Regions from separate parts of the Homo sapiens genome. Here regions 2, 3, 4 and 5 are each linked to region 1. Evidence: promoter capture Hi-C in 16 types of primary human blood cells and fetal thymus (Javierre and others, 2016). All regions are on one chromosome and are shown on one strand. The core of a region is centred on a gene start or on the middle of the fragment in contact, and the rest is flanking DNA. Distances in the headings are between cores, read along the strand shown. Region 1 holds the start of COA1 (cytochrome c oxidase assembly factor 1). Region 2 has its middle 30 kb from the start of C7orf25. Region 3 overlaps C7orf25 (chromosome 7 open reading frame 25). Region 4 has its middle 32 kb from the start of MRPL32. Region 5 overlaps HECW1 (HECT, C2 and WW domain containing E3 ubiquitin protein ligase 1).

What was found. The method cuts DNA at HindIII sites, captures the fragments that hold promoters and counts their contacts. A CHiCAGO score of 5 or more calls a contact.
Region 2: a contact is called between a fragment that was not itself captured here and the fragment with the promoter of COA1 in region 1, in 2 of 17 cell types (naive CD8 T cells and total B cells). The highest score is 6.5, in naive CD8 T cells.
Region 3: a contact is called between a fragment that was not itself captured here and the fragment with the promoter of COA1 in region 1, in 11 of 17 cell types (total B cells, total CD8 T cells, naive CD4 T cells and 8 more). The highest score is 10.5, in total B cells.
Region 4: a contact is called between a fragment that was not itself captured here and the fragment with the promoter of COA1 in region 1, in 4 of 17 cell types (naive B cells, naive CD4 T cells, naive CD8 T cells and 1 more). The highest score is 7.9, in naive B cells.
Region 5: a contact is called between a fragment that was not itself captured here and the fragment with the promoter of COA1 in region 1, in 1 of 17 cell types (total CD4 T cells). The highest score is 5.1, in total CD4 T cells.

The regions. Positions count from the first base shown.
Region 1 is chr7:43,727,969-43,730,874 of GRCh38, forward strand. It overlaps COA1 (cytochrome c oxidase assembly factor 1), which reads right to left and starts at 1,555. Exons shown (of 6, transcript NM_018224.4): 1 at 1,461-1,555. RefSeq lists enhancers at 841-1,570, 1,571-2,299, 1,666-1,865. The HindIII fragment of the contact is 9,306 bases long and covers 1-2,208 here.
Region 2 is chr7:42,880,861-42,883,766 of GRCh38, forward strand. No RefSeq gene overlaps it. Among named protein-coding and RNA genes, the nearest start is that of C7orf25, 30 kb to the right of the region's middle. The HindIII fragment of the contact is 1,163 bases long and covers 906-2,068 here.
Region 3 is chr7:42,907,446-42,910,351 of GRCh38, forward strand. It overlaps C7orf25 (chromosome 7 open reading frame 25), which reads right to left. Exons shown (of 2, transcript NM_001099858.2): 2 at 1,828-2,906. The coding sequence ends at 2,190. Among named protein-coding and RNA genes, the nearest start is that of C7orf25, 3.2 kb to the right of the region's middle. The HindIII fragment of the contact is 1,035 bases long and covers 908-1,942 here.
Region 4 is chr7:42,962,923-42,965,828 of GRCh38, forward strand. No RefSeq gene overlaps it. Among named protein-coding and RNA genes, the nearest start is that of MRPL32, 32 kb to the left of the region's middle. RefSeq lists an enhancer at 2,413-2,472. The HindIII fragment of the contact is 273 bases long and covers 1,326-1,598 here.
Region 5 is chr7:43,175,954-43,178,859 of GRCh38, forward strand. All of the region lies in intron 2 of HECW1 (HECT, C2 and WW domain containing E3 ubiquitin protein ligase 1), which reads left to right. Among named protein-coding and RNA genes, the nearest start is that of MIR3943, 27 kb to the left of the region's middle. The HindIII fragment of the contact is 566 bases long and covers 1,218-1,783 here.

The sequences.
Region 1 (2,906 bases), core at 305-2,804:
TTTTCTTTCTTTTTTTTTTTTTTTGAGATGGAGTCTAGCTCTCTCGCCCAGGCTGGAGTGCAGTGGCGCAATCTCGGCTCACTGCAAGCTCCACCTCCCGGGTTCACACCATCCTCCTGCCTCAGCCTCCCAAGTAGCTGGGACTACAGGCTCCCGCCACCACGCCCGGCTAATTTTTTGTATTTTTAGTGGAGACGGGGTTTCACCGTGTTAGCCAGGACGGTCTTGATCTCCTGACCTCGTGATCCACCCGCCTCGGCCTCCCAAAGTGCTGGGATTACAGGCGTGAGGCACCGCTACGTTTTAAATGGTGAACTCTACGGTAGGTGAACTATGTGTCAGGAAGCTGTTTTATTTTTTTAAAGGACTGAAGACTTTTGTTTTGTGTTTTGTTTTGTTTTCATTTTATCCCGTTTTTAAAACAGTGCCTAGCAATATTATGAATTCAATCGATTTTGGCTAAATGCTAGAACAAAAATTAAAACTTGAGTAAACCATATAAAACTTTGCCATATCTAAAGTTATTAAATTACCGTAGACTGGCATGGTGGGAGCATAATATGAGTGTACCTGCAGGTGTGTTTTCCATGAAAGTAGCAAAGACTGAAAAACTCAGCAGAATCAAGACCCTGTAGGCCCTTGAAGTTAGGCTAAGAAATGTGTATTATCCTGAAAGCAACGGGAAGGCCAGGAAGATTCTGAGGACAGAAATAACACAATCTGATATGCGTTTTAAACGTGCAGGTGTAAGCGGAGAGTTGCTACTTCTATCCAAACGTGAGCCACCTCAGAAATAAAGCAATAGCCCTCCGGGGAGAATGGGGAGGAATCAGGGGAAGACCGGAGAAACAGGTTATCAAATTATCAGAATCTCCATAGATTTTTTTAAATTACACAGCATCCACCCCCAAACACACATACAGACTGATAGGCACTGATATATACATAAATACATCCAATGTCCCCTACACAGAAAATCACTTTTGCAGTCAGCCCCTGTTGGGAGGGTTTTTCTGTTATTCAAGTGTGGTGGGGACAAAAAGTATTATAACCACTAAACCAGGTAATTCTTTCCTACAATAATTTGGGCAGCGTACTCCTCAGGGTGTTGAAATTTAGCACTACCAACAAAAGTGCCCAGTCCCAACTCTTCGAGAGGACCCTAACTCTTTACAGTGTGCTGTTGGGGATGGTCAGCAAAAACTGCAGGACAAGGTCAAGGTTAGCTCGACACAGCCTCCTAACTCCGAGCGGACGGAGCCACTGAAGGTTACCAGGTGCCAAAGAAGCTGCGCAGGGAGGCCGCGACCCGGCGCCGGCGCGAACCTCCGCGATGTGACCCGTGAGGGAACTCTCCAAGAAGCAGCGCACCCCGCGCGCAAAGGCGGCCCCCCGAATTGCAGGAACAAACGCTTCTTGCTGGGGGGAAGACGGAGACTCTTATACCGCGGGAGACTAACCTGTGAGCAACAGAAGCACCACGCTACAAAGAGCATGACGAGTTCTTCCAGGCTTGGGAAAGCACGGGTAAATGCCCGCGGTCCTGCGCGCCAGCGGGGAGCAGTAGAGACTTCCGGCGTCGGCTGCTCGCAGGGCTAGAGCGTCGAACCGGGACAACCGGAGGCTTCAGCTCACCTCGGATTGTAAATGCTAACACGGGTCCTCCGGCCGGCTGATCCAGAACTTAGGTCGCCGGGACGTGTGGCTTCTGCTTCTCAGACGCTCGGACTCGCGCCGGGAAGGGTTTCGCCTCCCCTGGTCCCCGCTTTTTTTTTTTTTTTCTGCGTCCGGTTATTGCAAATGCATTCAGTCCAGTAGCACTAGCCCAGGAAATATAAGCCACCGGCTCACGTTGCTCCTCACAGGTATGCGGCGCTTCCGCTGGCCTCCAAGGACACGAAGCCCCGGGCCGTCTGGCCCCCCACTCTAGCACTGAAATTCCTGCCGCCCCGTTCAGCTGACAAATTTGGCAGCACTAAATTTTATTTTATTCGACAAATTAAGTACCCAGTTAACACCAGGGAGTAACGGGGTAAGAAAATTTCAGAAGGCTGGTGGATAATAATAGCATTTACCTCATAAATTTGTTATGAGGATGTGAAGCACTTAGAGTAGTGTCTGGCAGTTTGTAGGCGCTCAGTAACTGTTAGCTGTTATTATTTTTATATTGATTATTCCATAGTCACCACTATTATCACCTTAATGTCAAGCTTGAAATCCAGTATCTTTCCTCTGCGAAGCCATCACTCCAAGACTAATTAACTTTAGACTGGGGCATTCTTCTTTAAACTCTTGCTCACACATCCCTATCAGAAAAAATATATATATATTTACATGTGTCATGTATGGCATTAATATATTATGCATGCTATAAAACTCACAAGACATCAAACTTTTGATGAGGTAAAAACAATTTTTAAACTTTTTTAAAAACTTCTAACAGAAGTTCTTTTCTTCCTCCACAACAATTAGGTTGCCAAACATACATTCTATCACTCTGGAATCCACTAGCTAAATGAGCACATTATCAAAGCAACCTACCGCTGAATTCTGACTTCCCAGAATGTTTCTTTTCCAAAGAATTAATAGAAACTAATCAGATTGTGAAGTGCTCGGCCATAAGGACTATTTAAATGGTTCTTAGAGAAAAAGAAGAAATAAAATAGGCATCCACTGAGTAATATTCATTGATGCAACATTGATTATTGACTTATTACATTTTCAAAGAGATTGAGGTTATAATACCTTACACCAAGCTTAATATTTCAAAGAATAAATCAACTAATAAAAAGCTTATGAGGTTTGGTATATGTGCATTTCATACAACGTTCATGAAAATGAACCCGAGATCAATTAGCTCCCGTTCTGTACCAGAAAGAGAAATATGTTTACTTTGTAAGTAATAA
Region 2 (2,906 bases), core at 237-2,736, 850 kb before region 1:
TATACAAAAGTTGGTGGTATTTCTATATAAAGGCAACAAACAAGTAGAAAATATAAATTACCATTTGCCATAACATCAAAACATAAATCACTTATAAATAAATCTAATGAGAAATGTGTAAGACTTTTATACAAAAAACTGCAAAACATTAATAAGAAAATGTTTGAAATACTTAAGTAAACAGGATGTGTCTGTTCCTTGACTGGAAAACTCAATGTTGTTAAGATGTCAGTTCTCCCAGAATTGGTCTATAGATTCAATGCAATTCAATGTAATCCCACTAAAACTCCCTTGGTTTTCTGTTGTTGTGTTGGGGGTTGGGCGGGGTGGGGGGGTAGAAACTAACAAGCCGATTCTTCTCTTTTTCCCCCATTGGCTAGGCTCCCTCAAAGCAGACAAGCTGTTTCTAAAATTCATACGGAAATGCAGAGAGCCTAGAATGTCCAAGGACGTAAGGAAGTAGAACAAAGCTCATATATTTTAAACCATGAGATATAAAGCCTATTAGAAAACTACAGAAATTAAGACAGTGCAGTACTGGTACTAGAATATGGAGCAGACCAATCCAATAGGAAGAGGAGTCCAGAAACAGACCCACAAGTCTCCCACACCCTAATGGGGAGAGAGGGAACTCCACTGCAATTCAGTGGGAAAAGGTACATGGAAAACAAAAACAAGAAACCTTGGCCCCCTACTTTAGGAAAGCTGAGAAAATCAAGTTTCTATAAGAAATATAGGACAATATCTTCATGAGCTTAGAAGAGGCAACTATTTCTCAAACATGACACCAAAACTGAAACTGCCTTTGCAAAACTATGACAATAAAAGAAATCCAATATGGCTGAGTTCATCTTGCTTCTAGCCTCACAGGCTGGCTGTCTTCATTCATTCACGGGTATAGACCAAGCTTACTATGGGAGAAATTTAGTTTACAGTTTAAATAATAACAGCCCTTCCCAAAAACTAAACTTTCTTTGTAAAACTAATGAAAGGCCACCAAGTTAGGAGGATGAAAGGGGTCTGAATTCTGCTAGATGTAGGCATAGTTAAATACTTACTAGTCATTATTCTGGAGGTCCCAAGATTTGCAACTTCCCCAATTACTCCTGCAGATAGCATCACTCTTGTAGAACCTAAGATTGACCTTTTGAGATGTCTTTTAAGGCTTTTGCATTTCTGACAACCAGATGATTCCACTTGGACCTGGACATTGGACCTGGACTCCTCTAGTAGCCCCCACTCAGAAACAGCCTCAGCACACAAGGATCATTTTCCACACCCCTATGATTGCATCCTCAACTAATCAGGATGTCCCCTTCTGGATACCCTTGCCCAACAAATTCTCCTTGGAAAACCCTAGTCTACAAATTTCTGGAGAGATTAATTTGAGTAATAACTGTCTCCCATGTGGCATGGCCAGCCAAGGGTTAATTAAACCCTTTCTTTACTGCAATGTCATGGTCTCAGTGGATTGACGTTGTTTGTGCAGCAGGCAGGAAGAACCTATCAGGTTATTACAGAACTACTATTAAGAAAGTAAAACAGGCCAAGCATGGTGGCTCATACCTGTAATCCCAGCACTTTGGGAGGCTGAGGCAGGAAGATCATTTGAGCCTAGGAGTTTGAGACCAGCCTGGGCAACACAGGGAGACTAAAAATTCAGCTAAAAATTAGCTGAGTGTGGTGGCCTGCCTGTAGTCCTAGTGTCATGGGACTTTTGAGGTATTGCTTTGCCATCCAGAAATCTCTGTAGCCAGTGGCACCTTTGCCTGAGTTTTGCTTGGACTTGCTGGGCTCATTCTGCCCACTCGGCCTGGCAGGCTGTACTCAGCTATAACTACCAGCCTGGATCCCATGCCTGCCAAAAGCAAGCCAGGCACAGAGCAGCAAAGGGTGTGTGAGCGAGCACTCAGTCCAGCCACTGTGCACAGACAGGCATACCAGCTGCAGTGGGGTGGGCAGCTCCAGGCACTGGCACAGGTGCCAGCTCCCTGTTAGGCTGTGGCTGGACCAGGTGTACCACAAGCAGCTTCCGTGGCTGGCACTGGGAAACATGGTGGCACCTGGAAGCTTGGAGATGCCAGGAACCACAGAGCCTGAAAGAGGGTGTCACAGCCCTGGCTTGGGGATCTCCTAGGTCTGTGCTCCCCAAAGGGCTGCAGCTCTTCTATCATTTTGTCTTCTCTCCTTGTCGCCTGCAAAGTGGCGAGTCAGGGGCATTTCAGCCCTGTTTGTGTTACAGCTTTTTTAGCCCCACCATTCAGCAGGACTTGAGTTCTTATCCTGTATCCAGGAAGAATGAGGTACACAGACAAGTGGAAGGTGAGCAAGGCAAAGAGGAGCTTTATTGAGTGATAAAACAGCTCAGAGGAGACCTGCAATGGGTAGCTCTTCTCTGCAGGCAGGGTGTCCCAGTGAGTGTTCAGCTCTCAGCAGAGATGAGACCATGGAGTAGGTAGCTCCTCTCCACAGCTGATTGTTGTGTTGTCTTCCCAGCTCTCAGCAGAGAGGAGACCCTGGAGTGGGCAGCTCCTCTCCACAGCTGGCAGGTCATTGTCCCCTCGAGTCTGGCTGAGTCTGGGGCCATTTTAGGCCTTAGAGGGGAGGAAATGCATCCAATTTGTCCATGGGTGGCCATGGGTGGGCCCAGAAAAAGCACCACAAGTTCCCACTTCGGTCCATGGGACCGGCAGCCTGGCCCCAGGCTTCAGACACTCTGCAGTTTGAAGGTGGGGTTTCACCGAGGTCTTGCCCATTTCCACCCAGGAGCCTGTCTGCCTCCTGCTGCCATTCATAGCGCCTAGGCTGTTCATGCTGAGGGGCACCTGCAGGCCAGCGCTGAGTTGCCCTCACACCCCCTCAGTCTCCCTCCCATGCTCATCAGCACCCAAAGTCCACAGGGGGCC
Region 3 (2,906 bases), core at 175-2,674, 820 kb before region 1:
TACATTGTTAGGAGTTGCAATCACTGGAATGCTTGAAAAAACATCATGGTCTTTGGCAGGGCACAGCTGTGGTCACTTCACAAAGCAGTTTCCTAAAGAGTGCTGTGGCCTGTCCACTTTCTAGTTGGCAAAGATCCCAAGTTCTTAGGTATTGATTGATTCATAGGGAGCAGGGATAGAAATCTACCTTCTTTCTGCTCCTTTAAAACAAGTCTTTTATATGCCATGCCCTTTGTACTGTGTCTGACACATGGCTGTCACTCAATGCTTATTAAACGAATGAGTACATTAATATGTCAATTCTGCCTCAAACAAATCCAACATGTATCCATGACTCTACAGTCCATCATTCCTGCTCTAGCTAAGGTCATTATAGTCCAAACTTTCTTTCAATTTTTATCCACACTACAGATTTTTGTGGTTTCCTTAAGAGACCTGATCATAAGCCACACTTTCTTAAAAATCACCAATGGCTCTCTAATGCCAAACTCTTTAGAGAACTTTGACTTTTTTTTCTAGCTCCATCTTGTTTTATAAACTGTCCACTTGAGCCTGGTCCCTGAACAGGTCCTCATAGTCACAGTTCTGGTACTTTTCCAATCCCATTCCTCCATGTACTTTTGAGTACCCTTTCTCACACATCTTGTGAAATTTCACACCCCAAACCCTCAAACAACACTTCCTCTCTGACTTCCTGGCCCCATAACAAGTACTCCTTTACTCTGTCCCCATAGTATTTTCAACATATCCTAGAGAATTTAGTACATTTAATTGCACTTCAGTTGTTTACTTCCACTTTAGACTTAAGAATTCCTTAGAGCAAACATTCATCTTTTCACACCAAACTATTATAATGCTTGGTACTTAATAGTATCAAGTACTACATGACCTTAATAGATGCTCAAAAAGCTTAAATTCCATTTCTAACACTAGACATATACCACTCTACACTAAACTGGAAGCAAATCACAGCCTTTCTACTAGAAAATGTATTCTGACTTAGTAAAGCAATCTCTCCCCAGAGAACCACCCCCATACACTTAATTTTGCATTCATTTCAGGGTGTTCATGAATGCCAATAACCAAATTCCACCCCAACAAACACTGTGGCTGTAAATTGAGATTCTCTTCTCAACAAATACGACATTTGGCATGGTAGAAAGAGATCAGACTGTGGCTAGAAACATCAAGTTTTAATACCAGCTCCTACACTTAGCATGAGTTAATATTTAAGCTCCAGGACTCAAATTCCAAATTTTTAAATGTGGTGAATACATACCGACTTTGCTAGTTTTGCTTTATTGAAAACTGATAAAGTATCTAGCGCAATGTAGCCATAGAAGTGTATTTTTAACTACAACTTGTGTCATGGAATTGGCATGGAATATTCTGTCACCATCTCATGAAAGTAAGGTAATGCAGTTGTCACTTGCCACTTGCAAATGAAACATGAAAATAGTATTTATTGTTCAAATACTTATAATATGGGGGCTTTCTGTATTGAATTTTTAAAATCTTTTACATAATCCTTTTTCAATTCATTCAAATTAGTATTTTACCTTAAGTGTCCTGGTTTTATCTTATAGTAGTAAGATTGTTGGCTTTCTTTTCACAAAGGTCTACCAATGGGTTCATGGCACTCAAATAACCATAATTCACTTTCTCATTTCTTCTGTATTATGTACTTTTTGTAAAAACACCTATCAGACTGCACCTGACATACAGCAAATAAGTTTTTCATTAATGGTTAACCTTAGAATCTAAAATTGATTACCAACGACTACCTCCCAGCCTAAACCATATAAAGCAATACAATGAAAAACAGGCTTGAATTTTCTCCAGATATTTAATGCAAGATGCAATGTAGCCATATTCCATGAAATGTGGTTAGCAGTAGGGGAGTTGTAGCCCTATCGAATCAAAGTATTACAATACAGCTGAAAGCTTTATATAGACGTATTTCGGTTCTTAATTGCACTAATGCAGACAGTTTGATAGATAAGCTTCTCTCTTGTGCTTTTTCTACTTTGGGAGGTTATATACTTTAGATGAGAGACAAAGAAACTCTACTGGTTTAAGAGTTCTCAGTTTTACTTTTACTATAGACCTTTTTTCCCACCAGTTTAGATGGGAAGACCCAGCCTTTGGTATAAATAACTTACTTCCACAAAAATATTTAAAGGGTATCTTTAGTGTTCACTGTCAGTTGTGTAGTCTTTTGGTAAGGGGGTGGCTAGAGCCTCTTTACTCTCAGTAAGTGCTCTGGGCTGATGGATAAACACACTAAATTTAACACCCTGGTTGTTTGCAGCTCTGACAAAACCACTATTAGCAGTCATTGTGATGGCTTTTAGGGTGTCTCCCGTCCCAAAAATTGTTAATGAGCGGCTATTAATTTTTGAACTGGCCACTAGTCTCAAGGCACGCTCAGAAGGCTGGTCTGGTACCACATTAATTCGCTTAATTAACACAGTGGCCCTCTCTCTCTCCCCAGGTCCTCCTAAGGTATCTAAAATAGACTGAAAGTCCTTGACAGCAGATTCACAAGCAAACAACTCCTTGTCCTTCATAAAGGCCTCCAGCTGAGGTAGAACCTGCTCTTTCCTCTCTTGCTCTGCTTGTTCTGTGAGCACTTTCTCTTTGAAAATAAAGTGGCAGCCTCCATAGCTGAGGGCAGATACATATGTGATTAAAGTAGTAATGTCCAGATTTACTCTTTTGCACACATCGACCTTAATTTCTGTTGGAAACGCAACACTTGCTAGTATATTTTCTCGGTCAACTCTGGTCACCTGCAAAAGTTCAGGGCCCTCATCATCTGATTCACTCTCACTTGGTTGAAGCTCTTCAGGGTGATCTAACAGAGCGTTGACTGCTACTATGTCTCCTCTCACAGATATGCCCAT
Region 4 (2,906 bases), core at 212-2,711, 770 kb before region 1:
TGTAACCTTTGTTTCTCTGATTATAGATTAAGCCTCCTTCCTTACCTGTATTGTTTTGTGTTAATAAAATGACATGAATGACAGAAGGGCACCAAGGAAGACCCCTTCCTTCTCCTCTGTTGATCTTCATTGTAGATTAACCTCCCTCTCACCTTTCTCACACAAAGACTTCATGACTACCACATTGTCTTAAGATGGAATGTTAAACATACTCTTTTAAATTGGAAAGGAAATGAAAATCAGCTATGAATAAAACAAGCCATACAGAAAAGAAAACAAACTCTAACTAATTAATTTGTTATAACTCTTAAACCAGTATATAGGAAATATAATCCTGTTAAATTTCTTTGTCTTCTTCCTATATAAGCAAAAACTTAACTTTTAACTTCAGAGCACTGATCCTATTTCTCTGAAATCTGTGTGTCCCAGAATGGCCATTCCCAGCTTTCTTCTTGATTAAACTCTTTAAAACTAGATTTTGACCCTTCTTATTATCTCATATTGACACAATCCCTCTTTATGACAGAACAACACAGAAAGACAAAGACAAAAGACAAGACTATTTCTGGGAGGAAAAAGACAATATGAATTTTCATACCAAAAAGTACACCAGAGTTGCTACACCTAAGACTAGGCTCACAAATCCTTTTCCTCCATTAATCAAGACTTTCAACTAGGTACGGTGGCTCACTCCTATAATCCCAGCATTTTGGGAAGCTCAGGTGGGTGTATCACCTGAGGTCAGGAGTTTGAGACCAGCCTGGCCAACATGGCAAAATCGCATCTCTACTAAAACCACAAAAATTAGCACCACCACTAGGTAGTGGTGGTGCATGGCTGTAATCCCAGCTACTCGGGAGGCTGAGGCACAAGAATTGCTTAAACCTGGGAGGCAGAGGTTGCAGTGAGCCAAGATCGTACCACTGCACTCCAGCCTTGGCAAGAGAGTGAGACTCTGTCTCAAAAAAAAAAAAAAAAAAAAAAAAGACTTTGGAGAGGGAAAGGGACAGTGACTTTTACTGTCTACTGGACCAGATTGCACAAAGAGAGGCTTGGAGCCTGGCTGGTAAGAATTTCTTATCCTACGGGTTTGTTGAGTCCTGGGCTCCCTTGACTGTGGCTTCCAGAAGAGCAGAGCAGTTTTGCTATCCTGCTCACAGTGCAAAACTGTAGGGGCCAAGGGAAACTTCCCCTGCATTCTGTAAAAGTTCACTGAAAATCAACTGACAGAAGGCAGATTAATAGGAGAAAAAGCATACAAATTTATTAACATGTGGGTGAGGGAATCAAACAGTGATTACCCCAATCTCCTAATGGGGTACAGAAGCTTCTATACCCTTTTTCATAGAGGAGGAAGGATATAGGGAATGTAGCCAGTTCTTTAAAGGGTGGTAAACGATTATTAGGGAAAATGAATGGACCAGGGATACAGAAATTAACTTGTAAATGATGATTATCTTTAGAATGTGAGGTGGAGAGGCAGGCATTATCTTGTGGAAAAGTTTATCCAGGTGTGGTTACATTCTTCAACCTTCTTTTCTGCTGTAGATAATGAGGTAACAGGGAGGGAACAGGCAATTGTATTTCTTTTGGCAAGAAGCTTTCTTGGTTAGATAAGGAAATTTCAGAGACAGTCCCTCTCTCTGCTGTCGAAAGGAAGGAGAAGAGGGTTAGAGGGACCTTGATTCTGAGGCTTATTTCTGAGTCCTTTCAATTTTCTTTCTTTTTCCTTTTTATTAAGATACAGGTCTCACTATGTTGCCCAGGCTGGTCTCAAACTCCTGGGCTCTAGCAATCCTCCCGCCTCGGCCTCCCAAAGTGCCAGGACTATAGGCATGAACCACTGCACTGGGCCTCAATTTTCAAAAGCATGCAGTATGCCCAAGTGCCATATTTGGGAGAATCATTTTCTATATCCCAAACGCTTTCTATTTCTGCGTGCCTGTTTATGTATCTGTCAGGATACTGTGTTAAGCTATGGCAACAAACTAACACAAGGTCTCAGCGACTTTATACAACAAAGGTCTATGTCAGGCTCATGTTACGTGCCCTTTGCTAGTCAGCCAGGAGCTCTGTTTTGTGTCCCTGTCATCCTGACTTGGATCCTTGCTAAAGGAGCAGCCACCATCTAGAACATTTTGTAGCCTTGGCAAAGGGAAAAGAGAGAAAGGTGAATCATGCTTCCTCTTAACAATTTCACAGAAAAGTGGTGCACATCACTTACATTTTATTGGCAAGACAAAATTCAAGTGGGTGGATGTGATATTGTGAAATATATATTTGGGTTTTGTCCCCATTTCTTGGCATACAGCTCCTAAACGTGATAAGAGCTAGCTCCTGGAGTGACAAGAATGTCTTTTGTATGCTAATGAATGACTACTGTCTAGCAGCCCCTAAATAGCTTCAGGACGGGGACTGGTCATGGGAGAGACCTAGGCATGATTAGAGAGTTGGGACTTTCAGCCCCATCCTGTAGTCTCCTGGGAGGGGAGAAAGGCTGAAGGTAGAGTTGACACCTATGGGCATTAATGTAATCAATCATGCCTATGTAATGAAGCCTCCATAAAAACCCAAAACGACTGGGTTTGGGGAGCTTCCACATAGGTGAACACATGGAGGTGCCTGGAGGAGACAGAGAGGACATGAAATTGCTTCATGTGGGGTAAGAATTGCTTCATGTGGGGAAAACCCCTGTACAACTGGTGGCAGAAGTGTTGCACTGAGTGACTGAGAGTAGAGAGCAGGGAAAACACTGTTATTTTTCTATCCTATAGCAGAGAAGTGCACTCTTGCCATTGTCTGGAGGGAGAGAATCATCTAAATGGCCACTGCAGGGATCTGCTCTGGGAACATCTCCATAGCAGGACATAGAGATCATCCTTATTCCGGTTAAATGTCAGAAGAGA
Region 5 (2,906 bases), core at 251-2,750, 550 kb before region 1:
TCACAGTGCCTAATGGCCAGCTCAGATTTGGATAACCTTTTGGATAATTCTTCTCAGTGAGCCATGTAGTGTTTTCTCAGCAAAATGTTTACCTATTTTGCAAGTACTACTTGAGGAGGAAAAATGGATTTCCTGATACAGTAGACAGCATTTGCAAATAAAAAGTGGCAAATATGGGCAATTTATTTGGTAAATAATGGCAAACATTTGTACCCCTGGATTCAATTCTGGAGTCTGTTACTGTGTGTAGAGGACTTTGTGGCTGAACTGTAAAAGAAACTCTCAATGTCTCCTTTTGCTCTGCCATATTTTTTTCAGAAAGCAGAAAGAGGCTTCAGTCAGAAGGAGTATACAACAGAACTTCAATAAGAGGTCGTGAAGCAGTCCTCATTTTGTATTTTAGGACCATTTTCATTATGAATCTGTGTCTCAGTTAATTTTCTGTGGCTATAACTGAACATCTAAGACTGGGTAATTTATAAAGAAAAAAATTCTTTATTTGAATCCTGTAGGTTGGGAAGCCCAAAGTTGAGGGGCTTCATCTAATGAGGGCCTTCTTACTGGTGGGGACTCTGCAGAGGCCTGAGGTGGCTGGGGCCTTCACACAGTGGGGGGCTCACAATAGATGGTCAAACTGGCTTTATAACAGACCCACTCTTGTGATAACTAACCCCCTCCCTCAATAACCCATTAATCCATTAATCTACTAAATCATAAATAGGTTAACCCATGCATGAGGGCAGAGTCCTCTTGACCCAATCATCTCCCGAAGGTCTCACTTCTCAACACTGCTGCATGGCGGACTAAGTTTCCAACACATTGACTTTTGGGGACACATTCAAACCATACCACTATGTGATGTTCTAGAATAGGGGCTCTTTCTCTAGGGACTGGGGGCCCCTAGGTCTGAGTTTCTAGAAGTTTGTCTAAAGGCCACCTGCATTGCAATTACGAAGCAGTGCCTGTTCATTTGCAGGCTCCTGGGCCTCTTCCTGAGATCCCTTAGATTACTATTTTTGAGGCTGGAGTTTGAAAATTTGCATTATAACAAGCTCTCTGGCTATTATTTTATGACATTATAGTTTGAGAACTACTCCTCTAGAGTTTCAGGGTTGAAAATTGCCTGAAATTGTAGGCAAACATTTTTGCGATTTGCATATAAACTTTTTTTTTCTATGGCATTCAACATATTTGGAACTATTACTCTAGAAAACAGAAGCTTGGACCCTGGAAGAATATTGCTCTCTCACACATTTGGGATTAAGTGGCTCAGCTTCTGTGGATGATGCCCAGAGAGGCTTAATGAGAACTTTGTAGGAACAAGTCCCAGCACTCTTCTCTCTGATCATTGGTGGTGGGGCCTTCCACAGTGAATCTACCAGTACACAGGTCTGATCATGTCACCCTTCATTCAAAAAGGTCATGTGTTCCCTAGTACCTAATGACCAGAATCTCAGGATCTGAGCCTGATCCCAGGGCAGTCTGGACTGAGTTTGTCCCTCATCAAGTTTTTCAGTGTATTCCCCACAGTCATCTTTCCCGTGCTGTCTTCCAGCCAGGGTTTGAGCCAGCATCCTTTTATTCTCCATGTATTGTGGTTTTAAAAAAGACTGTGGATTCAGACAACTTGAACTCTAGCCCTGGCTCTGCTACTTGTCACCTGTGTGAGTCTAGGCAAGTGACTTAATCACTGTGAGCCTTCATTTCATCCTTAATAATATAAGAAAAATAGCACCTACTTCAACCCGTTTTGTGAAGGTTAAATGAGTCTGTGTGAACATGAAGCTTAGCACAGCGTCTGGCACAAACACTCTGGCTGGCACCCTTCCTCCCATCTCAATGCCTTCTCCCCTTCTCTACAAATCCCAAACCTATCCATCTCCTCCTGAAGTCTTCTCAGTTCTTCCCTTTACTCCCCTACAGGAGGCACTGTCTCCCTCTTCTGAATACTGGTAACACATTATTTTCATCTTTCTTTAGCACTTAACCAATCCTGGCTTTGTGAACTTTTCAGACATCTGTTTGATCTCCCCTGCCCCTGTGGGCAGGGTTTTTTTGGTTTGGTTTGGTTTTTGAGACAGAGTCTCGCTCTGTCACCCAGGCTGGAGTGCAGTGGCATGATCTTGACTCACTGCAAACTCTGCCTCCTGGATTCAAGCAATTCTGCTTCAGCCTCCAAAGTAGCTGGTACTACAGGTGCCCACCACCATGCCTGACTAATTTTTGTATTTTAGTAGAGACGAGGTTTCACCATGTTGACCAGGCTGGTCTCAAACTCCTGAACTCAAATGATCTGCCCGTCTTGGCCTCCCAAAGTACTGGGATTACAGGCGTGAGCCACCGCACCTGGCCAGCAGGGTTCTATCTAACTATCCCCATGGACCGAGCCACAAGCTTTCTTGCACATAAAAGGTGCAAGACTGGAACTTGGTTTTAATGCTATTCATGATAGACAGGAATTTAGTGTAAGATGTATTCCATGTTACCCAGGAATTTACTGGATTAAATAAGCCACCACTTGGTAACATGAAAGAAAGTGCCAAATATCAAGTGATCCTCCAGCTTGGCCTCCAGACAGCTTTCTGTAAAGCTGCTGCTTTCTATGATAGCTCACATGTGTTGAGCTCCTCAATGCTTATTAGGCACTGGTCACTGTGCAGAGCGCTGCCTCCTCACACTCGCCCCTTGTCTTGCGTTCTCTCACATCCCTAATTTAAAGGTGAGAAAGTGGAGGCTGAAAGATGGAAAGAAACATGTCCAAGGTGCCACAGCTAGAGGTTGGGCAGCAAGGGGGACTGTATGCTTTGAATCACTGTGGTTCACTACCAGAGCCGCTGTGGCGTTCCTCAACTCCAGCCCACTTGGACCTTCAAGGCTTACAAAGATCCTTTCATTGTAGATTCTTT